Regions from separate parts of the Homo sapiens genome. Here regions 1, 2, 4 and 5 are each linked to region 3. Evidence: promoter capture Hi-C in human tissues and cell types (Jung and others, 2019). All regions are on one chromosome and are shown on one strand. The core of a region is centred on a gene start or on the middle of the fragment in contact, and the rest is flanking DNA. Distances in the headings are between cores, read along the strand shown. Region 1 overlaps BRCA1 (BRCA1 DNA repair associated). Region 2 overlaps ATP6V0A1 (ATPase H+ transporting V0 subunit a1). Region 3 holds the start of BECN1 (beclin 1). Region 4 overlaps NBR2 (neighbor of BRCA1 lncRNA 2). Region 5 overlaps STAT3 (signal transducer and activator of transcription 3).

Region 1 (5,422 bases), core at 318-2,817, 290 kb before region 3:
CCCAAAGTGCTAGGATTACAGGCATGAGGCACCATGCCCGGCCTTAAGCTTATCATTTTCTAAATTTCCTTTAGTGAGTACTTATTACACTGTTTTTACAAAGTAATCACAAACCAAACATCATGCCTCTTCTGAAGTGATCTAATAAGAGTACACAGTACCATCTGTAAAGTGTTCTTGCCAGAAAGTTGAACCTGAATGATTAAGCCTGTAAGTCTAGTTTATAGGAAATAAGGCTAGAGGAACAAGTTAAACCTCACCATAGGGTTATACAATCAGCAAAATCCAGAATGGGGGAAACTCCACAGGTCAAATGACCTAATTTTAAAAATAAATGACAAGGGAGAAAAAGTAAGAGACACCTATAGATCAGAAGACACTTGGGGCTGGGCATGGTGGCTCACACCTGTAATCCCAGCACTTTGGGAGGCCAAGGCAGGCGGATCACCTGAGGTCAGGAGTTCAAGACCAGCCGGCCAACATGGTGAAACCCCAACTCTACTAAAAATACGAAAAATCAGCCGGGCGTGGTGGCGCACGCCTGTAGTTCCAACTACCTGGGAGGCTGAGGCAGGAGAATCACTTGAACTTGGGAGGCAGAGGTTGCAGTGAGCCGAGATCGCACCATTGCATGCCAGTCTGGGCTACAAAAGCAAAACCCCATCTCAAAAAAAAGAAGACACTTGGGTTTGGGTGTGTTGGCTCATGCCTGTAAACCCCGTGCTGGGAGGATTGCTTGAGCCCAGGAGTTCAAGGCTGCAGTGAGGTATGTTTGCACCACTGCACTCCAGCCTAGGTGACAGAGTGTGACCTTATCTTAAAAGTAATAATAATTAAAATAATCTGGGGTAGGGGTGGATATGGGTGAAACAGCTTGGCCATGAGTTGATGGTTGTTGGACCAGGGTGATGGTCCATATAGTTCATTTTATTATTTTATTTACTTGAAATTTTGAAATACTTGAAATTTTCCATATTAAGTTAAAAAGGCATTTACAGTAAACAAAAAAAAGTTCTAGGAAGGAATTCAAAAGAAATATAAGCAGAAAATTTTGTCTTTATGGAGCTTAAAGATGAGATGTGCACCCACAGTGATAGTGCAGAAAAATATATCACTGGAAATGAATTCGTACGAACTATTATCAACTAATCTTTTAAATGCTGATGATAGTATAGAGTATTGAAGGGATCAATATAATTCTGTTTTGATATCTGAAAGCTCACTGAAGGTAAGGATCGTATTCTCTGCTGTATTCTCAGTTCCTGACACAGCAGACATTTAATAAATATTGAACGAACTTGAGGCCTTATGTTGACTCAGTCATAACAGCTCAAAGTTGAACTTATTCACTAAGAATAGCTTTATTTTTAAATAAATTATTGAGCCTCATTTATTTTCTTTTTCTCCCCCCCTACCCTGCTAGTCTGGAGTTGATCAAGGAACCTGTCTCCACAAAGTGTGACCACATATTTTGCAAGTAAGTTTGAATGTGTTATGTGGCTCCATTATTAGCTTTTGTTTTTGTCCTTCATAACCCAGGAAACACCTAACTTTATAGAAGCTTTACTTTCTTCAATTAAGTGAGAACGAAAAATCCAACTCCATTTCATTCTTTCTCAGAGAGTATATAGTTATCAAAAGTTGGTTGTAATCATAGTTCCTGGTAAAGTTTTGACATATATTATCTTTTTTTTTTTTTTTGAGACAAAGTCTCGCTCTGTCGCCCAGGCTGGAGTGCAGTGGCATGATCTTGGCTCACTGCAACCTCCGCCCCCCGAGTTCAAGCGATTCTTCTACCTCAGCCTCCCAGGTAGCTGGGACTACAGGCACCCGCCACCATGCTTGGCTAATTTTTGTACTTTTAGTAGAGATAAGGTTTCACCATATTGGCCAGGCTGGTCTCGAACTCCTGACCTTGTGATCCACCTGCCTCGGCCTCCCAAAGTTCTGGGATTACAGGCGTGAGCCACCACACCCGACTGACATATATTATCTATTAGGATGTAACATCATTTTGAACAGTGTTTTGTATTTTTTGTGTCCATCAGTGAAAGCAAACTGCAAGCAGTTTTGAAATAAGCACATTGTGTTTGAGCCTTCCCAGTTTCTCCTTTCTGTTCATTTCTGCATATCCTTATGCATTCCCCCTTCTAAGGGTCAGTGTTTGCCCGCTTTGTAATCATTGTGAAGACAGGAAAGGACCTGATACCAGTTTCTATTTAGGCCAAAATTCATTTATAGCAGTGATTCAAGTTATATTTACGTATTTGATGATCTTGTCTTTTGAAATGAAAATGTTTGTTTCTTAATAAAAGAATTTCAGAAAAAGTAGAGTAGGTAATTTAGTAGAACAAGTGGGCTTTCTCCTTTTCTTTATGTTAAGCTATGGCTCACATCTTACCTTAAATGTCAACTAATTTGTTTTTAAGTATTTATGTACCTGGTACATAACCTGGTACCAGGTACAAACTATGTACTTGGTAAAAAGTTTATTAGCACAAAAAGGTATATGATGCAAAGTATACTTCCCTCTTACCCTACAACCCCTGCCTCCCTGTTCCCTCCCCAGACAACCACAATGATCAATTTCTTATGTATCCTTTGAGGAATTTTTAAATTCCAGAGTTCTTAACTTGGGGTTTATGAATAGTCTTTATGAATTTCCTAGAATTATATTTAAATTGTATTCAAAACTATGGCCATGTACATTTTTCTGGGAAGATAGTCCATAATTTTCATCTGAGTGAGCTAAGATCATGCCACTGCATTCCAGCCTGGGCGACAAGAGGGAGACTCAAAAAAAAAAAAAAAAGTCCCAGTATTTACTACAGAGAGCTAAAGATTAACCTTTAAAGCCCTGGGGCTTTCAATTTATCTGGATGAGAATCTTTCTGGAATGAACTGTATGTTTTCTTGTCAGCTTGAGTAACAAATGCTGAACATACTATACTATTATTACAGGGACTCAAGGGCCCAGTGTGGTAGCTCCTGCCCATAACCCCAGCACTTTGGGAGGCCAAGGCAGGAAGATCACTTAAGGCCAGGAGTTCGAAGCTGTAGTGAGCTATGATCACACCACTGCACTCCAGCCTAGATGACAGAGTGAGACCCTGTCTTTTTTTTTTTTTGAGATGGTGTTTCACTCTATTGCCCAGGCTGGAGTGCAGTGGTGTGATCTCGGCTCACTGCAACCTCCACCTCCTGGGTTCAAGCGATTCTCCTGCCTCAGCCTCTTGAGTAGCTGGGATTACAGGCATCTGCCACCACACCCAGCTAATTTTTGTATTTTTAGTCGAGACAGGGTTTTCACCATGTTGGCCAGGCTGCTCTCAAACTCCTGACTTCAGCTACCTTGGCCTTAAAAAGTGTTGGGATTACAGGTGTAAGCCACCGCGCCTGGCTGACCCTGTCTCTTAACAAAAAAAGAGAGATTAAGTTATGAATATAGTTGCTTTGAGAACTTGTGGAAGAAGGAAATTATAGGCTTATAGGCAGAGATAATAATACGAGCAAATGTACAAATAAAAGAAAATAGAGGACGGGCGCGGTGGCTCACGCCTATAATACCAGCACTTTGGGAGGTCGAGGTGGGCGGATCACGAGGTCAGGAAATTAAGACCATCCTGGCCAAAATGGCGAAACACTGTCTCTACTAAAACACACAAAAAACTAGCCTGGCATGGTGGCACGTACCTGTAGTCCCAGCTACTTGGTAGGCTGCGGCAGGGGTATCACTTGAACCTGGGAGGCAGAGGTTGCCCTGAGCCGAGATCATGCCAATGCACTCCAGCCTGACAACAGAGTGAGACTCTGTCTGAAAAAAAAGAAAAGAAAAGAAAATACATCCAGGAAAAATAAGCTAACTTTGCATATGTGTATAGGAGTTGTGTTAGAAAAGGAAGAAGCCCTCAAAGATGGGAAGCCATTTGCAAGAAAGAGAAGGTCCAAGAGGAGGCAGAAGGGATTGGAAATAGAAAAAGGATGTAAGAAAGAGTTGATTATTACTCATAAACAGTAATGAAGGAAAAGGAGAGTAATTCTACAGGAAGATGCTGAGGTGCTTTGAGCCCAGTGAAGTTGGAGGTAAAGACAGCTGTTGAGGCCGGGCACGGTGGCTCACGCCTCTAATCCTAGCACTTTTGGAGCCCAAGGCAGGTGGATCACCTGAGGTCAGGAGCTCAAGACCAGCCTGACCAACATAGAGAAACCCCATCTCTACTAAAAATACAAAATTAGACGGGCGTGGAGGCGCATGCCTGTAATCCCAGTTACTTGGGAGGCTGAGGCAGGAGAATCACTTGAACCTGGGAGGCGGAGGTTGCAGTGAGCCGAGATTGCGCCATTGCACTCCAGCCTGGGCGACAAGAGTGAAAACTGTCTCAAAAAAAAAAAACAACAAAAAACAGCTGTTGAGATTGAGAGGATTAGAGTTGGCAACTGGAGAAGAGTGAGAAGCTTGGTTTCAAGCTTGTGATAGTCAGGATTGTGATAGTCAGGAAAGAACCAGTCATAAAGATATATGTGTGTGTATACATATAAATATGTTATATATATGTGTGTGTGTGACACATATATATTTTTGTTTGTTTCTTTGAGACAGTGTCTCCCTCTGACACCCAGGCTGGAGTTCAGTGGTGTGATCATAGTTCACTTTTACCTTGCAATCTGGGTTCAAGCAATCTCTCATCTCAGCCCCTCAAGTAGCTAGGACTACAGGTACATGGCATTTGCCCAGCTAATTTTTAAGTTTCTTGTAGAGATGGGCCAGCCATATTTTAAATTGTGTTTTGAATGTTATATTAGAATTAAAAGTCCAAAGCCGGGTGTGGTGGCTCACGCCTGTAATCCCAGCACTTTGGGAGGCTGAGGTGGGCGGATCACGAGGTCAGGAGTTCGAGACCAGCCTGGCCAATATGGTAACACCATCTCTACTAAAAATACAAAAATTAGCTGGGTATGGGGGCACATGCCTGTAGTCCCAGCTACTCAGGAGGCTGAGGCAGAGGAACCTCTTGAACCCAGGAGGCAGAGGCTGCAGTGAGTTGAGATCGTGCCACTGTACTCTAGCCTGGGCGACAGAGCAAGATTCCGTCTCAAAAAAAAAAAAAGTCCAGTATAATGCCCATGTGATAGATCGACTTTTTCATGAAATCTCTTCTGTAATATCAATATAATCTGAATAACACTTTGATCTATATGATGAGAAAGCTGGGAGCCTGGGAGCGATACCCCCATGCTTTTGTTGTATTAATTGTATTTTCTACGGATAAACTCTAATTGCTAAAAATAAAACAACTTTATTGACCCAAGCAAGCCTAAAGTTCTGAAATCTTTTTTTTATTTTTGTTTGTTTGTTTGTTTGTTTTTGTTTGTTTTGTTTTGAGACGGAGTCTCGCTCTGTCGCCCAGGCTGGAGTGCGGTG
Region 2 (5,912 bases), core at 2,033-4,532, 300 kb after region 3:
AGTGGCCCAAATTTGTTTCTTTGCATGTGGAAACCCCATTGTACCAGTGTCATTTGTTGAAAAAGAGAGATCTTTCCTCATTGAATTATCTTGACCCCTTTATCAAAAATCAAGTGACCATAAATGTTAGGATTTATTCCTGGACTCTCAATTCGAATCCAATGATTCCAAATATCTATTCTTATGAGGCCTTCCCTTCCCACTGAGCAGAAGCTGAGACCTCAATGACCAGAGTTTCCACTCGGGACCTTATCTTTGAGGAGCTGGGTGGGGTGGGCCTCTCAGGGCCGACACCAGGGACAGGTAGCACTGTTAGGGAGGAGGAAGGGCTTTAGGTTAGGCTGGAACATGGAATGAACAGGGGGTTGTGGCCCCTTCACCTGTCTGGGGCCCAGGTCACATTCCTGGGCAGCCCCTGCCCTGGAGGCCCCTGGAGGGAGGAGTGAAGAGGGAGGGTACCGAGAATGCAGTGCCTCACTAGGCAGTGGGGAGGGGGCCTCCTGCCCAGCCTGCCACCCTGGACGGTCTGCCTGCTCTCCACCCTGCCGCCTGCCAATCCCAGCACCTCACATTCCCCAGCTGCCCTGAGGAACCTGTGTGGAGCCTCCACTTACACTAAGGCCGGGGTATCAGGGCTCAACATAGCCAGGCCACTGGGCCCTGGAGGGCACACTTGGAGAAGAGGGAGAGGCGCGTGGGGAGATACCCAGTGCCCCTCTGCCCCCATGCTGTCTGGATGTGCAATGAGTAAACGGGAGACGAAGATGGGCTGCCCAGTCCCCTCTTCCCACAGGTAGTGTCTGCAGAGCTGACTTGGATCCTGTGAGTGGGAAGGCGCCTGGGAAACTTGGGACAAGGTGAGAATTTCCCAAACCAACTGCCCAGCCAGGCCTACTGAAGCTGTGGCCTTTGATAGAAGGAAAAGCAGCAATGCTGGAGGAGGGAGGCGAAGGTCAGGGGTCCACAGGGGCTCAAGATGGCTGAGCCTGGAGCGACGCAGGGGCTGTGGGCACAGTGACAGGCAGCTTCTCCGGGGAAGTCAAACATACTTTATTCAACATAGGAATGTCTGAACAGGAGGACCTTGGGCAGGGTTCCCTGAACTCTGCTTCAAACCCCACTGGAAACAGAGCAAAGATCATCACGAAAACCCAGGACACCAGGGCAGGGGGGCTGCACAAGGTCGGGTCAGGTCACAGTGGGCCAGCACACAGTGGCCCCGCCCAGGGCCAGCCCAGCCTGGGAGAGGGGATGAGGGCTCCAGGCAGCTCACTCAGAAAAGCCAGGGTAGGAGGAGGGCACCAGCCTGGCCCACTCAGGGAATTCTTTCTACCACTGAAAGCGGTGGGGATTAACTTAGCCAGGGCTGCCACGCCAGCACACGATTACAAGGTTCGGGGTGACAAGGAGGAAGCCCCTTGGCAGGACTGTGCAGCCCTCACAGCCACATGCACGGCAGCCCTGCCAATGGCTTCCAAACAGCAAACCATCAGTGACACTGACCTTCCCTGCCCAGGACACCCCTCCTGAGACCTGGGGCCAGTGTGGTGAGGAGGGGGCACTAGGGGCGGAGCCAGGCAGGCTGCAGGCAGAACCAAGAGGACCCCAGTCCCACACTGAAGACATCATGATTGGGGGTGGGGAAGATCTCAGGGTCTCCATCAGGGAAGAGCATCAGTCTGCACCCTCGGCCTGAGGGTGTGCTTGTGGGCAGGGCCCATGCAAGGCCTGGGAAGAAGCCAACCCCGAGAGAGGGAAGCCCTGTGCACTGCGGAGCAGCCAAGGCCTCTGTTCCAAGCATCCCGGCTGTGCTATGTAGTGCAGGGCATGAACGGGGAGAGAGGAAAGGATGGGAGTGCAGGGTGGGGTCAGAAAGGCGGTGTAGATATCCTATGACCCCTGGGGATGACAGGGAGAAGCCACTCATGATGGCCTAGTTGGGTCCAGCTGAATGCCAGGGGGGTGGGCAAAAGACGCAAATATCATCTTCCTGGACCCACCCCTGCTAATCCAAGAGTGGGACATGTTACCAGTGTCCCCTTCTAGGGAAGAATCTGTATTACTCCCCCCACTACTCCTGCTAGAAACTACGGTGGCAGATGCAGGGAACTCAAAGTCTAGATGTGAATGGCATGGGTGCTCCTTCCATCTACAATGCACGGGGAAGATGAAAGGGCTTTGGGATGGCGTGGGAATGCAGACTGGCTCACCACCAGGAGGTGGGAAGGGCTGTCTGGATGGATGGAGGCTAAGAGGGCAAGGCTGGTGCCCAGTGAGTATGAGTGACAGCCAGAAAATCACTACACTACACACAAAGCTAGGGGTGGTGGGAGACCCAAGGAGGACTATTCTATCTAAATGACTCACAGACAGGGTGACACGAATGAGCTGGTGCCCACAGATCACAACCAACAGGCAGAGAGGCACAGCTGATCACTGTGGAGGGAGGCGGGGAGGGTAGCATGGGGCACACGGCCCTCACAGGGACTCACTCTTCAAACTTCCCTTCCCGAATATGCTCGAAGGAGAAGGGTAAGAACTTGAAACCGGTCCCGCTGTAGAATTTATTCTGGAACTCAACCCTGGAGAAAGAGAAGAAGAAAGCTGTCATTCAATAGAAACTTTGTGAAGCTTTTTAGGACTTCACAGTTGGGCAGGAAAGATGCCCCGTGCCCACCTCACCCCGAGCCTCCCTTCCCTGGGGAAGCTAGAGAAAGCCCAGAGTGCAGAGATCCCACTTTTAAGGCCTGGGATCAAGAGTTCGACGCACGGAGGAAGGGATTTGCCCTCAGTTCCCAATCTTGCTCTGTCCTGCCGAGCAGTGTGTTTATGCACAACTCTCTGCAGAGAGGCATGTGCAAAAAAAGTTCAGTTACCTTGAGCCTAACATCGTTAATGAACAAGTGGCCCCCATCGCCCCCTCCTGGCAGGGGATCACACAGCCCACCTCTAAGGGAAGCCCCTCCAGAGACACTGGGCAAGCACCTCTGTTTGCTTGTTATTTTTCCTTGGGGGAGCAAAAGGGCGAGCTTGGAGTGAATGTTGAAGGCTTTCCATTTAAGGAAGGAAATTCCAAGGAAAGAGGGGGAGTTAGGAGGGGAAGTCTTCTCAAAGCAATGGCAAAAATATTCTCCAACCACAAAAACATCTGAGAAAGAATTCTTCTCTTGGGGACTAAAAAGAAAAAGCCTGAGCTCCCTTCCCAGCAGTTCAGCATCCATGCCTGATGGTCTCTGTGGGGCCCTTTCACTCTCAGGGAGGGTGGGAGGAAGACTGTCCCATAAGCAGAGCGAGGCTGCTTGGCTGTGCTTCCTCCTGCAAACTCACCCTGGACAGCTGCCCAGCAACCAAACCACACCAAATAAGGGCAGAAAAATGCATGATTCAGGGGATAAAAAGGCCAAGGAGAGCTGCCCTGAGGAATAGTTTCCACATGGTGCTGTGTGACCCTGGAGGCACCGGAGCCCCTATAAGAACAGGCAGGCGTGGGGGCTGGGGCAGGCTCCAGGTGACAGGTCACGTGCAGGGTGAGGGCTTTGAGGCGCTTTAAAGCTTCAGGAACCCTCTAGTTCCCTAACTCAGCTTTTACAAATGGAGATTCCTCCCTCCAAGCCAAGAAGGCAGGAATTAAGAGAACAGGGGCTGGGAGGTGGCTGGGGCCCAAAGGTTACAGACTGTTTGCCAGTGGCACTGGGAGTTCCTCAGAGGCCCCTTCACTGGGGTGCAGGCTGAGGAGCACCCCCTTGAAGAAGAGCGCAACCGAATTTTCTGAGTGGGAGTAAAAGCAGTCAGCTTTCTTCCCCACATCCCCACATTCCACAGGGGTGGGCCAAGGTCCTCCAGGAAAAACAGGACTCAGGAGGGGGAGGACACAGAGCTTCCAACTGACGTTAGCTGACGGTTCCCACCAGAGCAATTCCAAACCAGGACCTGGATTCACCCACGTCCCAACACCCCACCAAAACTACTTCTCCAAGTTCCAGCTACTGAGACCACCTCTGAGGGAACGCGGTGGGGCCTAGCAGTGGGTTCCTGCTTCTCACCCACTTGTGTTAGGTTTGAATTCTTCATGTTGAATAGACTGTGTTCCCATGTGGCAAGGGTTATTTCAGAACAGCTGAAACGAGATTTACATGTCCCCTTTTCATTCAACAATACATAGCCAGAGAGTGGACAAGTCACCTGAGGGTCCCAGGCCATTACCTAGGAGTGAATGTCAGCCTTGGTAGGGTATGCTGACCCCCGACTCCAGTGAGGTGTCCAGAACTCTGACCCCCACCCCCTCCTGGCTAATCACAAAACCATTCTAATCTTCAAACTGGGCAAATGGAGCAGCAGCTTTGTTTTCAGATGCCTGTGGGGGCACCGCCCTTTTCTTGGCACCCCTCCAGTCACCTTATCTACCCATGGGGGCCCAGCAAGGAGGAAGAGGGATATATGCCTGGGAGGGGCACATCAATTGTACTGTGTGAGCAGACAGGTGGCCTCCCTGACATACTGCCCAATACTGCCCCTCCCACCAGCTGCTGCTTTAGAGACTTAGAGCGGCCAGAACTGGGACATCTTGGGTCTATCTTGAGGTCAGCCTGATTTCACCTCCTTCCGTGGCCACCCTCACCCCAACCACCCAGCACAAAGCTGGAAAGCAATTTCCCTGCTAGTCTCCCCACTCTCTCCCGCTGAACTGGGGAAATGTGTGCTTCCTGAGAAAGTACAAACATGAAGTTCCCCAGGGCAAGGGGGGCCCCATCTGCCATCCTAGGTTCTTCCTTCTTTTTGGGCATCTCCACTGCTCTGCTCAGGGAGCCTCCAAAGTCTTGCCATGCCCCAAGACACTGAAATGCACCTCTAGAATTCAACAGCTGTGAGGAGAGCCTCAGGACGCCAGATGAGTGTCTCTATCATCTCTTCCAGCTCCAGCACTTGGCAAAGGCCACCTGGTGACTCAGAGGGATTAACTGGGGCCAAAAGACATCATTCATGCCACGTAACAGGAACTCTGTTTCCTCGAGTGGGTGAAGGAGGAAGGAGTCTTGGGGCCGCTTCCCTTCCCTGGTGGGGGTTGTGACTGAGGGCAGGCAGTCTGGAAAGACAATTCTGGGCTGAGCTGTTTATGTAGCCTGTTCTGCCACTCTCTGTGCCGTTCAGGGCCTACAACACACATCTGTCTGACGGCCTGAATATCAGGGCAATGATGGCAGCCTGGAACTACATTTCAAGAGTTCTGAGTTCTCCTGGGCAGCCATTCCCTCAACTGCTCCATGCTGTCATGCCGTGGCAACACTGCATTCCTAACAAGAAGCTGGTCCCCGATTCTGTCCCTTTAATCACCACCCAATCTGTGAGTGTACAGGTAGGTGTACATCTATGTGTATGTGGAATTCGCTAGGTAAGGAGAGACCAGGTTCCTTGGAAGGTATGCCCTGGGGCAATAGTTCTGCATAAAAATCAGTTTGATGTTTACAGTGATAACTACAATCAAATCCCTGTCTCATGCCTTCTCTGAGGAAGAAAAGATGTCTAATTATGGTAGGTAAGAAGCCAAGCACACTTCATGTGGCAGGAGGGAGGAAAAGAGAGAAAACTCAGGAGACAGAATTAGCAGATTAATACATTAGCCTGCTCACTGTTTTCAAACACATCACCCCCCTTCCTATGATGCTGCATGAATCTCACACTAGTGGTTTATATGTTATCGAATCAAATGTTTTTCTTATTGTCCCCACTGAGGAGACCAGAACTTGTATAATGGGGCAGCCCTTGAATCAGGAAACAGCAGGGATAAAGTGGGAGGTATGAAGATGCCTAGGATGGATGCCAGGAAGAACAGCAGCACCATCCCTACAGCTGGTTCAGCAGCCCCAGAGGCTCCACCCCTGGTAAGAGGGCCACAGCTCAGAACGCCTCCTGCA
Region 3 (5,511 bases), core at 2,250-4,749:
GTCAAATTCTCTCCTCTGGAATATAAACTATTAGAGCAGTTCACCAGTATATCCTCTCAGACCTAGAATAGGGACTGGCACATAGTAGATGCTCAATAAACATCTGTTGAATCGATGACTGAGGATATGTTGTGTATTATTCACAATCCCTCAAGCACTACATACACTGATTACATATACTTCCCAAGTGTGAGGATACACAGAGCATTCACTATGTAACAGTCATTCCCCTCCATTCCAAATGTATCAGCTCATTTATCACACTACCCTTTATGATATTTACTACTGTATACTATTAATCTCATTTTGTAAATAAGAAAACAAAGCACAGAACAGTTGAATAAATTGCATAAGGTCACATGGTTAGTGGATGGTAAAGAACCAGGTGGTCTCAACTTCCAAATCCTCAGTTGTAACACTATACCCCCTACCTCTCTAGAAGCCCGTTACTTCTCTATGCGTTTCTGAGATGTTAGGGACAGCCAAGCAGGAAGAAACGCAGGACTATGAAGCAGCCACACCAGGACTAGGTGAGAATTCTTTGGGGATGATTCCAGTCACCTCCCCTAAAGGGGCTTTCATGCTGAAAGAGCCAAGAGGAAGAAGGATTGTAAACACTATCCCTAGTCACAAAACCGGGAGAAAAATCAATCTAGTTCCACATATCACATCCAATACCAACTATAAGAAACCACATACATTTAAAAGAAAAGAAAGACACTTCTGGAGGTGGGAATAACTTTCTAAGCAGTATAAGTCATCAAGAAAAATAAGCAGATTTGACTTGAAAATTTAAAACTTCCTGAACATCTGGAAAATAATTAAAGCATTCATGAAAAATTACTAAAAATACTGAGAAAAATACTAATAATCCAATACCTAAATAATCAAAGAATGCAAACATAATTCAGAAAAAAGTAACTACTGCTTGAGCCCGGGAGGCGGAGATTCCAGTGAGCTGATATTGCACCACTGCACTCCAGCCTGGGTGACAGAGTGAGACCGTGTCTCTTTTTTTTTTTTTTTTTAAAAAAAGGCCGGGCATGGTGGCTCACACCTGTAATCCCAGCACTTTGGGAGGCCAAGGCGGGCAGATCAGGAGGTCAGGAGATTGAGACCATCCTGGCTAACATGGTGAAACCGTCTCCACTAAAAATATAAAAAATTAGCCGGGTGTAGTGGTGGGCGCCTGTAGTCCCAGCTACTCGGGAGGCTGAGACAGGAGAATGGCGTGAACCCAGGAGGCAGAGGTTGCAGTGAGCCGAGATGGCACCACTGCACTCCAGCCTGGGCAACAGAGCAAGACTCCATCTCAAAAAAAAAAAAAAAAGTAACTACAATAAGCAAATACATAGCAAAAAGTTCAGCCTTACCAGCAATCAATGATGCTAATTAAAATAACAAGGAAGTGCCATTTTTTGCTTTTGTTCCCCAAATATATGATACCCAATACTGGCCAAGGCAATATGAAAACAGGCTTCCTCATACATTACTGGAAGCAGAATATAGTTATGTGCAAGCACTTTGGAAAATGATTCCCAGTGTTAAGGAAGAGACATTAAATAGCTGACACACTCTTAATTCTGTAGTCCCAGTTATGAGTCTCTATCATAAGTAGCCAGCTCTTCATTGCAGGATTATTGTAATCACCCACAGGGGAAATAGTAGAATTTCCAGCGGTAAAAAAATACACTAAGGCAGTACATTTAGTGTAGTGTAATGTAGCCATGATAACTACAATAACTGTGTAGCAACATAGAAAAATGTTAAATTTAAAAAGCAGAAGCCTGGGCAACAAAGTGAGACCCCATCTCTTTTTTTTTTTGAGATGGCGTCTCGCTCTGTCACCGAGGCTGGAGTGCAGTGTGAGACCACATCTCTACAAAAAATTTTAAAAATTAGCTGGGCATGGTAGTGATCACCTGTGGTCCCTGCTACACTGGAGGTTGAAGCAAGAGGATTGCTTGAGCCAGGAAGTCAAATCTGCAGTGAGCCATGTTTGTTTGTTCCGCTTCACTCCAGCCTGGGTAACAGAGTAAGACACTGTCTCAAAATAAAAATAAAATAGACAATACTACATACAATTTTGGGTTAAGCAGTGGTTTCTTTTACACCAAAAGCATAAACATTGGACTTTATTGAAATGAAAAACTTTTGGCCAGGCACATTGGCTCACACCTGTAATCTCAGCACTTTGGGAGGCCACAGTGGGGGATTGCAAGGGGAGATGGGAAATGTTCTAAAACTGGATTATGGTGATAGTTGGGCAACTGTGTAAATTTACTAAAAATTATTGAACTGTACATTTAAAAAGTGTGAGTCTTATGGTATGTAAATTATACCCCATAAAGTTGTTTTTAAAAATGAAGTAAGTCCCTCTGCTCAAGACCCAGTCATCTCATCTCATTCAAAGTGAAAGCCAGAGCTTTACAATCCCTATAAGAGCCTAGGTGGTAGCTCAACACTCTTACCTCCCTCACCCCATTTTCTGTATCTCTTTTCGTTGCCCATCTTCTAGCCACACCAGCCTCTGCTAATCCCCAAACAGGTACCCTCTGTGCTCTTGCTGTTCCCTTGGCCTAGAATGCTCTTCCTTAAGATGCAGGTAAGAATTCCTTCCTCACCTTCTTCAAGCTTTTATTTGAATATCACTTTCTTTTTTTGTTGGTTTTGTGTGTGTGTGTGGGGGGGGGGGGTTTGAGATGGAGTTTCCTTCTGTCGCCCAGGCTGGAGTGCAGTGGCATGATCTCGACTCACTGCAACCTCCGCCTCCGGGGGTCAAGCGATTTTCCTACCCCAGCCTCCTGAGTAGCTGGGATTACAGGCGCACGCCACCATGCCCAGCTAATTGTATTTTTTAGTAGAGACGGGATTTAACCATTTTGGCCAGGCTGGTCTCGAACTCCTGACCTTGTGATCCGCCCGCCTCGGCCTCCCAAAGTGCTGGAATTACAAGCGTGAGCCACCATGCCCGGCCTTTTGTTGTTGCTGTTGTTGTTCTGAGATGGAGCCTTGCCCTGTCGCCCAGGCTGGAGTGCAGTGGCCCGATCTCGGCTCACTGCAACCTCCACCTCCCAGGTTCAAGCGATTCTCCTGCCTCAGCCTCCCGAGTAGCTGGGATTAAGCTGGGATTATAGGCGTGCCCCACCACGCCCGGCTAGTTTTTGTATTTTTAGTAGAGACGGGGTTTCACTGTGTTGGCCAGGCTGGTCTCGAACTCCTGACCTCACGTGATCCGCCCTCCTCGGCCTCCCCAAGTGCTGAGATTACAGGCGTGAGCCACCGCGCCCGCCGCCCCCTGAATTTAGAGAATAGCGGAGCCTCCCCATTCTCTGCGGCCTTGGCTCCTACACTTCCCGTGGTAACCTTGTTCATCCGCTGAAGCCCGCTGCTTTTCCCAGCCCGGCCTCTGGGGGCCGCTGCCGGGCCTGTGAGCCTGTGGACCAGGAGCTCCTGCTGCCGTCGTAGCGTCACGTCCGGTCTCGGGCGGAAGTTTTCCGGCGGCTACCGGGAAGTCGCTGAAGACAGAGCGATGGTAGTTCTGGAGGCCTCGCTCCGGGGCCGACCCGAGGCCACAGTGCCTCCGCGGTAGACCGGACTTGGGTGACGGGCTCCGGGCTCCCGAGGTGAAGAGCATCGGGGGCTGAGGTGGGACCTTAGAAGGGAGTCTGGGAACCCTCACGGCTCTTATTGGAGTCCCTTCCCTGACCCTGGGCTCTAAACTGCCTTTGCTCAGGCTGTCCCGGAAGCAGGTCCTCCCCGTATCATACCATTCCTAGAGGGAACGGCGCAGGTTGGGACTTCCCTCCCTTTACCATCGTCACCAAGGCATGTGGTAACCCCGGGCCGGAGGTCAAGGGCGTCGCTTCTCCCTAATGTTGCCTCTTTTCCACGGCCTCAGGGATGGAAGGGTCTAAGACGTCCAACAACAGCACCATGCAGGTGAGCTTCGTGTGCCAGCGCTGCAGCCAGCCCCTGAAACTGGACACGAGTTTCAAGATCCTGGACCGTGTCACCATCCAGGAACTCACAGGTCAGCGAGACCCTTGGAAAGAGGGTGGTCAAGAATGTGGAAGGTGGGCAGCTTTGGTGATATAATTCTTATGGTGGCTGTGTAGTCTGCCACAAACTCATCGTGTGAACCTAGGAAAGTCACTTCATCTGGCTCCCTGTTTTCTCCTTGGAAACATAAAGCATTCTGACATTGTGGACTTCTGAGAGCTTTCCGACCGGGCGCGGTGGCTCACGCCTGTAATCCCAGCATTTTGGGAGACCGAGGCGGGCAGATCACCTGAGGTCAGGAGTTCGAGACCAGCCTGGCCAACATGGCGAAACCCCTCTCTACTAAAAATACAAAAATTAGCCGGGCGTGATGGCACGTGCCTGTAGTCCCAGCTACTCGGGAGGTTGAGGCAGGAGAATCGCTTGAACCGGTGAGGTGGAGTTTGCAGTGAGCTGAGATCGCACCACTGCACTCCAGCCTGGGCAACAGAGCGAGGCTCCGTCTCAAAAAAAGAGAGCTTTCAGTAGCAAAAGAAAGATCCTTATTTTCTGCTCCTGCTGTTTCAGAGAAAAGGAATATGTATATATAATAATAAATGGTATTTTTTGAGGACTTACTATATAGTAATACCAAGTGCATTACACGTATTACTTCATTTAGTCCCTGTAACAACCCGTACGGGGTATACCGTCATTACATCATTTTTCAGATGAAGAACCGAGGCACAGAGAGGTTAAGTGACTTACCTAAGGTCCAACAGCTGGTAAATGGAGTAGAGTCTTAAAGTCTGAAGAATTTGCTGGATGTGATGGCTCACGCCTGTAATCTCAGTGCTTTGGGAGGCTGAGGTGGGAGGATCGCTTGAGCCCAGGAGTTCAAGACCAACCTGAGCAACCTAGCAGAGATCTTGTCTCTAAAAAAAAAAAAAAATTGCTGGGTGTGGTGGGTGGTGGAGGCTGAGGCAGGAGGATCACTTGAGCCCAGGAGGTCAAAGCTGCAGGAAGCTATGATCATGCCACTGCACTGCAGCTTGGGCAACAGTGCAAGACCCTGTCTCAAAAAATAAATTAATTAAAAAGGCCAGGAGTGGTGGTTCACACCTGTGATCCCAGCACTATGGGAGGCTGAGGCAGGTGGATCACTTGAGCAGGAGTTTGAGACCAGCCTGGGCAACACAGTAAGACCCTGTCTCTATAATTAAAAAAAATAAAAAACCCCAAAATCCCGCAAAGTCAGAAGAATTCAGATTAAGTCAGACAGTAAAAGAGAAGACTGAATAGGCAGCTTAAATAAGCTTATGGGCCTGGAGTCAGCCTGCTTGGGTTTAAATCCTGGCTGTCATTTACTAGCTGAACAACTTTTTGCAAGTTACTTCATTTCTCCAAGCCTTGGTTTCTGATTTTTTCTGTAAAACGTTAAACTGCCTCATAAAGAATTTATAAAGTTCAAATATGACAAACCACAGAAACACTTAGGAATTTGCTGGGCAAATAGTATTCAATAAGTAT
Region 4 (5,639 bases), core at 1,904-4,403, 320 kb before region 3:
CACCACTGCACTGCAGCCTGGGCGACAGAGCGAGACTCTGTCTCAAAAAAAAAAAAAAAGAAAGAAAAAAAATTCCTCTGAATTGTAAAGAAGGGAGACAGGGACCACTGATAAGACATGGTCTATGGTATTCATCAGACTTGGCTTCTTTATCTCCTGCTTCATCAGAGGCTGGACTCTCCTCAGTTTTCGTTTCCCCTGTTTTCTGCAGGTAAATCTTCTTTAGTTTTTTGGTTAGCCACTTCGGCCTGTTTTCCCTTTGCTCCCCTTTTCCCTTTTTTTGCACTTTTGTGTCTGAAAATTTATCCTTCGCTGCTGCCTTTTTCGGCTTCGCTTCCACTTTTGCAGGAGGTTTAGCTGACAATTGCGCTGATCTCCTCTTGGGCTCTTCCATGGCAGCCCCTTCGGTGGAGCTGACCTTTTTCTTGGGCATCCTGGCAGCAGGGAAGGTGGGTGCCAGGTGCCTGCTGGCCGCGGTGTGCCTACAGCCTTCGCGAAGCTGGGCTGCCTGGCCGCTGCCACTCCTCCCGCCACCGGAGCTGCTCTCGCTATGTTGGCCAGGCTGGTCTCGAACTCCAGACCTTAGATGAACCACCTGCCTCGGCCTCCCAAAGTGCTGGGATTACAGGCATGAGCCACCATGCCTGCCCTCGGAGCTGCTCTTATTTTTCTTATATTAAAGAATATATATAACTAATTCTAGCCATGCAGTAAGACATTTAAATGTGTAGTTAAATATTTATGCATAAATAACAAGGGCCATCAGAAAGAAAAGCAGGACTGAAGCTGGCGGCCCACGCATCCACAAAGGCAGCAGGCAGAGGAAGCACAGGGCCATCTTTCCCTGCCTTGTTTCCCAGTCTAATTAGTCATCCAGACCTAAAAACATATCCTCAGAGGGTGGAGATTTTACAATTAAATATCGTTGTTCTTGGTGCCCTCTCCCCTGGTTCATCAAGTATAATACCACATACTTGACCTCCTGCCCACAGGGGACCTACCACCTCCTGGCCCCTCTCATAGGATCACTGGGCCTACCTGCACTGTGTGGCCAAGCCCTGTCTTTTTCCCAAGCCCTCAAGCCCATGCATGAATGTTCATTCAGACATGGTAGGGGGCTTTTCGCCCTTACAAGATGGAGGAAAATTCACTTTATTTTTTTTATTGAGATGGAGTCTCGCTCTGTCACCCAGGCTGGAGTGCAGTGGTGCAATCTCGGCTCACTGCAACCTCCGCCTCCCAGGTTCACGCCATTCTCCTGCCTCAGCCTCCCGAGTAGGTGGGACTACAGGCGCCCGCCAGCATGCCCAGCTAATTTCTTTTTGTATTCTTAGTAGAGACAGGGTTTCACCATCTTAGCCAGGATGGTCTCGATCTCCTGACCTTGTGATCTGCCCGCCTCAGCCTCCCAAAGTGCTGGGATTACAGGACTGAGCCACCGCACCCGGCCTGGTTTTTTTTATAATTTATTTTTCTTTTTAAAAATCCCAACCTTTGGATAGCAGGGAGGTGCTGGAGGGATAGGGTCAAGAAGAGTGTGTGAGAGCAGTAATTTCCCAAGACTGCCCTCTGCGGGACTGTATTTCAGAAAACATACTGGTGGGGCTACCTCTCCATTCACGTGTACTGCCCTAGCCTCTCCCCATCCCCCGCTGATGCACTTCCATAGATGCACTGTTCCATAACGGCAGCAGAATGCTGCAGAAGGCGCAAGGATTCCTCCACTCCATCTTCAAAAAAAAAGTCACTAATAAATCACATTTGGTAAGTTAGTGAACATGAAACACATTAGTGAGCAAAAGAAAATCTGAATGAACAAGAATTGGTAATCTACCTAACTGAACACAAATGAACGCTGGCAGTTCAGTAATAGGAAGTAAAGAACAGTGCTAACTGCAGAACAGCAGCACCCCCATCCCAGGAGCAGTGTGACTGGGAAGCAGCCCTGTGTGCGTGCTGTGGGGGTTCTAAGCAAAGTGAGCCGCCCATCGGTTTCCATGAGTTTGCTGATGTCAGACAAAAGACACCTGTTCTTTAGCTGCCTGCCCCAATTATCTCCCAAAGTTCCTTACTGAGAATGAAAAGTGTCTTTATCTGTGTGGTGACTTCAGTGGGCCAACAAATATTTGAGTCTAAAGCACAAGACTAGGCCGGGCATGGTGGTTTATGCCTGTAATCCCAACATTTTGGGAGGCCAAGGCAGGCGGATCACCTGAGGTTGGGAGTTCAAGACCAGCCTAACCAACATGGAGAAACCCGTGTCTACCAAAAAAAATAAAATAAATAAATAAATAAATAAATATACACACACACATATATATACATATATATATACACATATATACATATATATACACACATATATACATATATATGCACACATATATACATATATACATATATATATACACACATATATATACACACACACACACACATATATATATACACACACACACACACACACACACACAAAAATTAGCCGGGCATGGTGGCACATGCCTGTAATCCCAGCTACTCAGGAGGCTGAGGTAGGAGAATCACTTGAACCTGGGAAGTGGAGGTTGTGGTGAGCCAAGATCACGCCATTGCACTCCTGCCTGGGCAATAAGACTGAAACTCTGTCTTAAAAATAATTAAATAAAAAGTAAAGCACAAGACTAAATAGTCATAGGCAGAACAGCAGCTACCATTTACAATTTGCTTACTTGATGCCAAATCCTGGGTTAGGCATTTTACAGTCTTATATGATTTAGCCCAGCAATCCATGGAAGCATAGTTTTTAAAATCATCATCTGACAGATAAGGATACAGGGCTAGAAGGACGTAGGTGACCTGCCCAAGTGTCCAAGGCCACACATCCAAAACGACAAGTTACGGTTTTAAGCCAGCACTGTTAGGCTCAAAGCCTTGTAACCATTCCTCTGTCCGGCTGTAGGACATAGGGAGATAAAGGGGGATAAGCCATGGTTGCCATTGAAGAGTCAATAACAATAACATACGGATGGTGAGAATGATGGCAGCTGCTGTTTGTTGGGCACCAGCTGTGGTCAGGTACAGTGCTAAGCACTTTAATTACACTGTTAAGTCACCAGGACAGAAACTCCCCCACACCAGCTCTGTAATAGGGGTGAGTGTTGGACATAAGCAGGGAGTTGACAAGAAGCCAAGACTAGGCTGGGCACAGTGGCTCACGCCTGTAATTCCAGCACTTTGGGAGGCTGAGGTGGGTGGACCACCTGAGGTCAGGAGTTCAAGACCAGCCTGGCCAACATGGCAAAACCCCGTCTCTACTAAAAAATACAAAAATTAGCTGGGGATGGTCATGTGCTCCTGTAATCCCAGTTACTCAGGAGGCTGAAGCAGGGAGAATTGCTTGAACCCAGGAGACGGAGGTTGCAGTGAGCCGAGACTGGGCCACTGCACACCAGCCTGGGCAACAGAGCAAGACTCCATCTCAAGAAAAAAAGAAGCCAAGAGTAGAGATCCTTGCACTGCTGGGCTCCCAAAGTCTGGATTCCAAGCACCTCCAGGTTCCTATTTTGGCATATTTACATAATTTCACATTTTTATGCTAAATTTTTTTTTTCGGTCTGTCGCCCAGGTTGGAGTGCAGTGGTGCGATCTCGGCTCACTGCAAGCTCCGCCTCCCAGGTTCACGCCATTCTCCTGCCTCAGCCTCCCAAGTAGCTGGGACTACAGGTGCCCGTCACCACACCTGGCTAATTTTTTGTTTTTAGTAGAGATGGGGTTTCACCATGTTAACCAAGATGGTCTCGATCTCCTGACCTCGTGATCCGCCCGCCTCAGCCTCCCAAAGTGCTGGATTACAGGTGTGAGCCACCGTGCCCGGTGATAATTTTTTTTTATATAACAAAAAATTTTTTTATGTATCTCAAATGTGCACATTTTTCTTTTGAGACAGGGTCTTGATGTGTCACCCAGCCTGGAGTGCAGTGGTGCATTCATAGCTCACTGCAGCCTCAAGCTCTAGGGCTCAAAAGATCCTCCTGCCTCAGCCTCCAGAGTAGCTGGGGGTCTACAGGCATGCACCACCATGCCTGGCTACAATTCTTATTATTCCCCAATGCTACCCCAACCATATTTCTAAAAACTCCCAAAGTAAGATTCTATTTTGCCCAGTTTGTCCTCAATTGAGCAGTTTTGTCTGAGCCCAGAGTTTCTGCTGGGCCAGCCTGTGGATGAGCTGTCTCTCCCAGGCCGGTGCCCATCCCTGCCAGTAGCCTGGGAGGGGGAGGGGTGCCCAGGGTCAGGTGGAACAAAACATGACTGCCTAGGGCTGCCTCTGTCTCCATCTCACTGACGGCAAACCATAGCTCAGAGGGCCAGCTCTTAAGTGAGACCTGAGTGCCACAGAAAGGTGGACACAAGGCCAACAGCTACTAAATGAAAGAAAATTCTGATTCCAATGAAATCTGCCAGAGAAATAAAGCATTTTTTAAAGGATGATGAAATAAGGCGATGTCTGATTAGGGCAAACATGATGCAGACAGGAAATGCAGCAGTTCAGAGGAGGGAAGGTCAGGCCGCCTGGGGAGAGTCCATGAAAAAGATGGAACATGCCAGACGTTGTGCCTGGCGCTGGGAAAGAGTTGACTAGGACAGCATCCCTTTCCTCAAAGGGCTCCTAGACTAGGGAGAGGGCCGGACATCTGAATACATCCTGAGGAGACAGTGTGGGACAGCATGCTGGCAGTGGAGCCAGCCGTGGTTCTGCTCTTGGTCGGCTGGAAAGGAGTAGATATAAGGGATGGCTTAGAAGAAGGGAAGTGGAAGAAAAGTTTTCTGAGCAGAAAAGAGGAAGGAAAGGCCTTCTAGACAGGACACTACAAAGGCAGAGAAGCCCTAAGCAGAGTGAGCACCAGACTCCACAGGTTAAGGGCTCAGTCACACAGGACCGCCCTCACGTCAGACCCCAGGTGCAAGGCCAAGCATCACCTATGCATCTGACCAACTGGCTATAAATTGGAGGTCCCCACAACTCCCTCCTCAGGTTTGACCATTTGCTAGAACAGCTCACAAAACCCAGGAAAATAGTTTACTTACTATTGCTGATTTATTACAAAGGATATTTTAAAGGATACAAATGAACAGCCAGATGAAGAGATACACAGGGTGAGGTCTGGAAGGGTCCTTGTGGAGTTGGGGTGCACCATCCTCCCGGCACATGGATGTGTTCGCCAACCCAGCAGCTCTCCATGTCCTGTCTTTCAAGGATTTTTCTGGAGGCTTTGTCACGCAGGCATGATCGAGCTCCAGCTCTGCTCCCCACCCCAGAGGATGGGGAATGGGGCTGAAAGCACTAAGCTTCCAACCATAGTTAGGTATTTTTGGTGACCAGTCCCCAAATAAGGAGCCCACCAAGAGTCACCTCATGAGAACAAAGGACGCTCCTATCATGCAGAAAATTCCAAGGGATTTAGGAATCCTTGTGTCAGGAACCAAGGTGAAGGACCAAACGTTAGAACAAAAGATGTGCAATCATAAAAAAGAACAAGATCATCTCTTTTGTAGGAACACAGATGGATCTTGAGGCCATTATCCTCAGCAAACTAAGAAAGGAACAGAAAACCAAACACCACACGTTCTCACTTATAAGTGGGAGCTAAATGATGAGA
Region 5 (6,027 bases), core at 2,857-5,356, 510 kb after region 3:
CTGCAGCTGTCCTCAGTGTGGAGGGGGTAGCCCTGTCTGTTCCCCTTCAGCACTTGCTGTTTTGACTCTCTGGGTTCTTTGTGCAGGTCTTGATGGGGAGTCTCTGGTTTGCCATTCTTTGTTTGATTTAACTTTCTGTAATCATAAAGCCAATGATGGGCTTTTTTTTTTTTTTTTTTTTTAGACTAAGTCTTGCTCTATCACCCAAGCTGGAGTGCAGTGGCACCATCTCGGCTCACTGCAACCTCCACCTCCCGGTTCAAGCAATTCTCCTGCCTCAGCCTCCCGAGTAGCTGGGATTATGGGCTTGTGCCACCATGCCCAGCTGATTTTTGTATTTTTTGTAGAGAAAGGGTTTCGCCATGTTGGCCAGGCTGGCCTCGAACTCCTGACCTCAGGTGATCTGCCCACTTCAGCCTCCCAAAGTGCTGGGATTACAGGCGTGAGCCACTGTGCCTGGCCTAATGATGGGCTCTTTAATGTGATCCTTTAGGGTTGGCGCCTTGCCCTAGTTGCTGTTGAAAAAACTATTTTTGTCCAAATAGCACACACACAGAAACCTACCAACTTCCCTCCCACTTTTTCCTAGGAATTCCTTCTGAGGGATTTCTTGAGATGGGGCAGAATGGGGCTTGGAAGAGGGAGTTGGAGCTAATTGACCGTTGCCTTTCTCCTTTGTTGGGGTCCTGAGTCTTGTTCCTGCTGTAAGAGTTACTCACTTCCTGTCTGCCACCTATCTCCCTTTGCATGTGTGCTTCAGTTGGGAGATCTGTTTATCAGCCCCTGCCACACGGCTCTTTGTTCCTTCTGCAGAGGACGTTGGGGTCCCACGGCTGGTCCTTTTGACTCATTTTGCTTTCAAGGTCCCACCTCCCAGTCTGAGGCTGCATCCTCCATTACCATCGCCCTTCCTGTGGGCTGGGAGGCCAGGTCCTTTCCTGCCCAGCGATGTCAGCGTTTCCTCAGGGGCCAGGCACTCATCAGGAGAAAGGAACTAATTACTTGAGTAATTTGCCTTGCCTTGCTGAGAGGAGTGTGCCCTGAGGGACTCCATGTGAGTGTGGTGACGGGTGTGGGGGTGTCCCTGTGTTATTTTAAAATGGGTGCCTTCAGGACGATGAGCATGTGACCATTTCCTCTCTATTTCCATCACAAGAGTATTATGGTATGAGGGTCTCAGGTTAGATTATCCTCCCAAGACTCTTCTCTCTTCCTTCTCTACTGGAAGCCCACATAGCATTTCCTTATGGCTTGAGGGAGAGGTTCGGAGCCACTTACAAATTAGATAAAGTACATTTACAATCTTGTACAAAGCCACACAATGAAGTCATTTTTCTCAGCTTTTTTTTTTTTTTTTTTTTTTTTTTTGAGCCTGAGTCTCGCTCTATCGTCCAGACTGGAGTGCAGTGGCGCGATCTTGCTTCACTGAAACCTCTGCCTCCCAGGTTCAAGAGATTCTCATACCTCAGCCTCCTGAGTAGCTGGGATTACAGACATGCACCACTATGCCTGGCTAATTTTTGGATTTTTAGTAGAGACCGGGTTTCACCCTGTTGGCCAGGCTGGTCTCGAACCCCTGACCTCAAGTGATCTTCCCGCCTGGGCCTCCCAAAGTGCTGGGATTATAGGTGTGAGCCACAGTGCCCAGCCTTGTTTTTGTTTTTGTTTTGTTTTGACAGTCTGTCACTCTGTCACCCAGGCTGGAGTGCAGTGGTGCGATCTCACCTCACTTCAGCCTCTGCCTCCCAGGTTCAAGTGATTCTCCTGTCTCAGCCTCCTGAGTAGCTGGGATTACAGGCGTGCCACCACGCCCAGCTATTTTTGTAATTTCATTAAAGACAGGGTTTCCCCATGTTGGTGAGGCTGGTCTTGAACTCCTGGCCTCAAGTGATCCACCTGCTTCAGCCTCCCAAAGTGCAGGGATTACAGGCATGAGCCACTGTGCCTGGCCTCAGCTATCTTGAATGCTGGAGAATTAAATCCTTTTCTGTCTAGGGTGTCAGCTCCCTAAGGGCTGGGCCAAAACAGTTGGATTTATAAGACACTAGAGTCTTGCCTCAGTAGCTCCTTTGAATTCTGCACTGAATTGATCAGTTTCTTGGCCCAAAGTAAACTCAGATGGCAGCCCAAGAGCCACTCTGCAGTGCCTTCTTTCACATGGTCATCATGCTCTCTGATCCCTCAGGTTCTGTCTAAGCCTCATGTTTTATGACCGTGCTGTTCTCAGCCCACCTCACCCTGCCCCATGCCTTCTCAATGGTTTGTTCACCTGAATTCCCCAGATTTCATGCCAGTATCCCCAAGGTTCCTTGACCTCTTGGTGTAAGCATTCAGCATCTAAAATTCATTTTATTCCCGTCAACGCATTTCTAACTGTAGAACAAGAATTATAAATGACAAAGCTCATAGAAAATTGGCACCTTGTCTTCCCCCTCCCTCTTATTTTATACATAAAAGAGAATATGGGCTGGGCATTGTGGCCAAGGCTGGGCATGATAGCTCATACTTGTAATCCAGCACTTTGGGAGGGTGAGGCAGATGGATCACCTGAGGTCAGGAGTTCAAGACCAGCCTGGCCAACATGGTGAAACCTCATCTCTACTAAAATTACAAAAAAAAAATTAGCTAGGCATGGTGGCAGATGCCTGTAATCCAGCTACTCAGGAGGCTGATGAAGGAGAATCACTTGAACCCTGGAGGCAGAGGTTGTAGAGAGCCAAGATGGCGCTACTGCACTCCAACCTGGGCGAAAGAGAGCAAGACTCCGTCTCAAAAAAAAAAAAGACAAAAATTAGCCAGGCATGGTGGTGCCACCTGTAGTCCCAGCTGCTTGGGAGCCTAAGGCAGGAGAATCGTTTTGACCTGGGAGTAGGAGGTTGCGGTAACCGAGATTGTGCCACTGCACTTGAGCCTGGGCAACAGAGTGAGACTCTGTCTCAAAACAATAAGAACAACAGCAACAAAAGAGAGAGACCATGCCTTGCTCCAGGTCTCTTAGCTATTGAAGATGTACCTGGACCCAGGTCTCCGGTCTTCTAGTTGAAGCAATTGTACTGCCTTACAAAGTCACATTCTCTTTGGTGCTTTTTGATTGACGTATTTATCCAACTAGAAAGTTACTCATGCCCTCATCCAAAAATGTGGTAGAGGCCAGATTAGTGCTGGTAGGAATAAGAGATATAACCTTTGGCTTTGGAACCACAAGCATTAGCAGTCTCCATGTTCTTTAAAGACTTGGTGATATTGGTATTTAGGCTGGACACCATGCAAAGACTACACAGGCTCGGTTCCTGCATGCAGAGAAGTTATCTAAGAGATATGACCAGGCCGGAATAGAATGCTCAGACCACGTGGAGGCTGTTAAACTTTTACATAATCTAGGGAAAGAAGGGACACAAGGTGGCATTAGTCTAGGGTCAGGTGGGAAAAGGTTATGCTGAAAAGTCTCTGCAGCTCAGGACAGCTTTGTGCAAAGAACTGAAGTTCACAGCTGCTAGTGCCTGGGAGATCAAATAGTATAAATGAGGGCAGACAACCCTGAGGGGCAGATGGAGCTTTCCAGACAATCTTGGCATGAGGATGAGTGAGTTTCAAATCAGTCCTGCCGAGGCAGATGGCTTCCTCCAGCTCTGCTTACTGAATGCGAAGTCACAGTCAGTAAGAAAACTGGTTTTCTTCTTCCCAGGCGCTGCCCCATACCTGAAGACCAAGTTTATCTGTGTGACACCGTAAGTGGCTTCCTTTCCCCGTTTTGCCTTCATTTCTAATATCCTCAGTTATCCCTGGGAATGGGACACTGGGTGAGAGTTAATCTGCCAAAGGTTGGAAGCCCCTGGGCTATGTTTAGTACTCAAAGTGACCTTGTGTGTTTAAAAAGCTTGAGCTTTTATTTTTCTGTTGGAGACCAGAGTTTGATGGCTTGTGTGTGTGTGTTTTGTTCTTTTTTTTTTTTCCATTGTGTCTTGTCAACCCCCCGTTTCCCCTCCTGCTGCCCCCCATTTCCTACAGAACGACCTGCAGCAATACCATTGACCTGCCGATGTCCCCCCGCACTTTAGATTCATTGATGCAGTTTGGAAATAATGGTGAAGGTGCTGAACCCTCAGCAGGAGGGCAGTTTGGTGAGTATTTGGTTGACAGACTTTGTCCCTATAAGGGAAGTTGGTCCCCTTTGTGTGATGCTCTCACATGTACACACCGAGAGCTGGTCACTCGGAATGGTAGGAGATTCTAGAGCTTTGCTTTCCAAAAGAGATGGTATGAATGCCACATGTGTGAGTATAAATCTTCTAGCAGCCACACTGGAAATAGACGAACTTAATTTTTACAATATATTTTATTTAACCCACTAAATCCAACATACTCTCAATTTAACATTTCAGAAAAAGTTGAGGCTGGGTGAGTGGCTCATGCCTGTAATCCCAGCACTTTGGGAGGCCGAGGTGGGTGGATCACTTGAGGTCAGGAGTTCGAGACCAGTCTGACCAAAATCTCTAAAATATAAAAATTAGCTGGGCATGGTGGCGCATACCTGTAATCCCAGCTACTCAAGAAGCTGAGGTGGGAGGATCGCTTGAGCCTGGGAGGTGGAGGTTGCAGTGAGCAGAGATCGTGCCACTGCACTCCAGCCTGGGCGACAGAGTGAGACTCCATCTCAAATAAACAAAACTAAACTAAAAAGAAAAAGTTGAGACCTTTTTTTATTCTTTTTTTTCATACTAAGCCTTTAAAATCCAGTGGGCTTTTGACAGCCACAGCACAGCTCAGTTTGGACAAACCAAATCTCAAATGCTTGGTGGCCACGTGTGTCTCGGGGCTCCTGAATTAAACAGTAGATCAAGGGCAGAAGATCTCAGGACAGCCTTAGAGCTTCTGTAAACATGGAGCTCTGGGAATCAGTTAAGGTGGGAATGAGAAAGGACCCTTCCCGAGGCAGGGTCCTCCAGGGAGGAGGGTAAATCTGGCTTTTCTGACCATCCCTGGGCCTTAAGGGGCAGGAGATTGGATAGCAGTGGTAGCCTGGGCCCTGTCCTCTGAAGGGCTGGGGGCGTGGCCTGCCAGTTGCAGAGGGTGGACAACTGAACTAGTTTTCCCTGTCTGTCCCTCCAGAGTCCCTCACCTTTGACATGGAGTTGACCTCGGAGTGCGCTACCTCCCCCATGTGAGGAGCTGAGAACGGAAGCTGCAGAAAGATACGACTGAGGCGCCTACCTGCATTCTGCCACCCCTCACACAGCCAAACCCCAGATCATCTGAAACTACTAACTTTGTGGTTCCAGATTTTTTTTAATCTCCTACTTCTGCTATCTTTGAGCAATCTGGGCACTTTTAAAAATAGAGAAATGAGTGAATGTGGGTGATCTGCTTTTATCTAAATGCAAATAAGGATGTGTTCTCTGAGACCCATGATCAGGGGATGTGGCGGGGGGTGGCTAGAGGGAGAAAAAGGAAATGTCTTGTGTTGTTTTGTTCCCCTGCCCTCCTTTCTCAGCAGCTTTTTGTTATTGTTGTTGTTGTTCTTAGACAAGTGCCTCCTGGTGCCTGCGGCATCCTTCTGCCTGTTTCTGTAAGCAAATGCCACAGGCCACCTATAGCTACATACTCCTGGCATTGCACTTTTTAACCTTGCTGACATCCAAATAGAAGATAGGACTATCTAAGCCCTAGGTTTCTTTTTAAATTAAGAAATAATAACAATTAAAGGGCAAAAAACACTGTATCAGCATAGCCTTTCTGTATTTAAGAAACTTAAGCAGCCGGGCATGGTGGCTCACGCCTGTAATCCCAGCACTTTGGGAGGCCGAGGCGGATCATAAGGTCAGGAGATCAAGACCATCCTGGCTAACACGGTGAAACCCCGTCTCTACTAAAAGTACAAAAAATTAGCTGGGTGTGGTGGTGGGCGCCTGTAGTCCCAGCTACTCGGGAGGCTGAGGCAGGAGAATCGCTTGAACCTGAGAGGCGGAGGTTGCAGTGAGCCAAAATTGCACCACTGCACACTGCACTCCATCCTGGGCGACAGTCTGA

Evidence for each region. The method cuts DNA at HindIII sites, captures the fragments that hold promoters and counts their contacts. A contact is called where the count stands out against the background at its distance.
Region 1: a fragment that was not itself captured here is called in contact with the fragment with the promoter of BECN1 in region 3 in 4 of the 25 tissues and cell types used here (bladder, dorsolateral prefrontal cortex, liver and 1 more).
Region 2: a contact is called between a fragment that was not itself captured here and the fragment with the promoter of BECN1 in region 3, in 1 of the 25 tissues and cell types used here (pancreas).
Region 4: a fragment that was not itself captured here is called in contact with the fragment with the promoter of BECN1 in region 3 in 1 of the 25 tissues and cell types used here (bladder).
Region 5: a fragment that was not itself captured here is called in contact with the fragment with the promoter of BECN1 in region 3 in 1 of the 25 tissues and cell types used here (hippocampus).

What each region holds. Positions count from the first base shown.
Region 1 is chr17:43,111,781-43,117,202 of GRCh38, reverse strand. BRCA1 (BRCA1 DNA repair associated) reads left to right here. Exons shown (of 23, transcript NM_007294.4): 3 at 1,424-1,477. Among named protein-coding and RNA genes, the nearest start is that of BRCA1, 11 kb to the left of the region's middle. The HindIII fragment of the contact is 5,789 bases long and covers 1-4,461 here.
Region 2 is chr17:42,517,697-42,523,608 of GRCh38, reverse strand. It overlaps ATP6V0A1 (ATPase H+ transporting V0 subunit a1), which reads right to left. Exons shown (of 22, transcript NM_001130021.3): 22 at 1,030-2,582. The coding sequence ends at 2,489. Among named protein-coding and RNA genes, the nearest start is that of MIR5010, 6.5 kb to the right of the region's middle. The HindIII fragment of the contact is 4,137 bases long and covers 1,214-5,350 here.
Region 3 is chr17:42,822,270-42,827,780 of GRCh38, reverse strand. BECN1 (beclin 1) reads left to right here and starts at 3,499. Exons shown (of 12, transcript NM_001313998.2): 1 at 3,499-3,626; 2 at 3,902-4,033. The coding sequence starts at 3,904. It overlaps MIR6781 (microRNA 6781), which reads left to right and starts at 3,838; the gene lies at 3,838-3,901. RefSeq lists enhancers at 2,570-3,136, 3,141-3,270, 3,137-3,705, 3,706-4,272. The HindIII fragment of the contact is 8,869 bases long and covers 1-5,511 here.
Region 4 is chr17:43,139,750-43,145,388 of GRCh38, reverse strand. NBR2 (neighbor of BRCA1 lncRNA 2) reads right to left here. Exons shown (of 8, transcript NR_138145.1): 7 at 2,813-2,932. It also overlaps a transcript of BRCA1 not described here and the pseudogene HMGN1P29. Among named protein-coding and RNA genes, the nearest start is that of NBR2, 17 kb to the right of the region's middle. The HindIII fragment of the contact is 9,487 bases long and covers 1-5,639 here.
Region 5 is chr17:42,314,883-42,320,909 of GRCh38, reverse strand. It overlaps STAT3 (signal transducer and activator of transcription 3), which reads left to right. Exons shown (of 24, transcript NM_139276.3): 22 at 3,686-3,728; 23 at 4,009-4,121; 24 at 5,110-6,027. The coding sequence ends at 5,165. Among named protein-coding and RNA genes, the nearest start is that of STAT5A, 29 kb to the right of the region's middle. The HindIII fragment of the contact is 8,739 bases long and covers 1-6,027 here.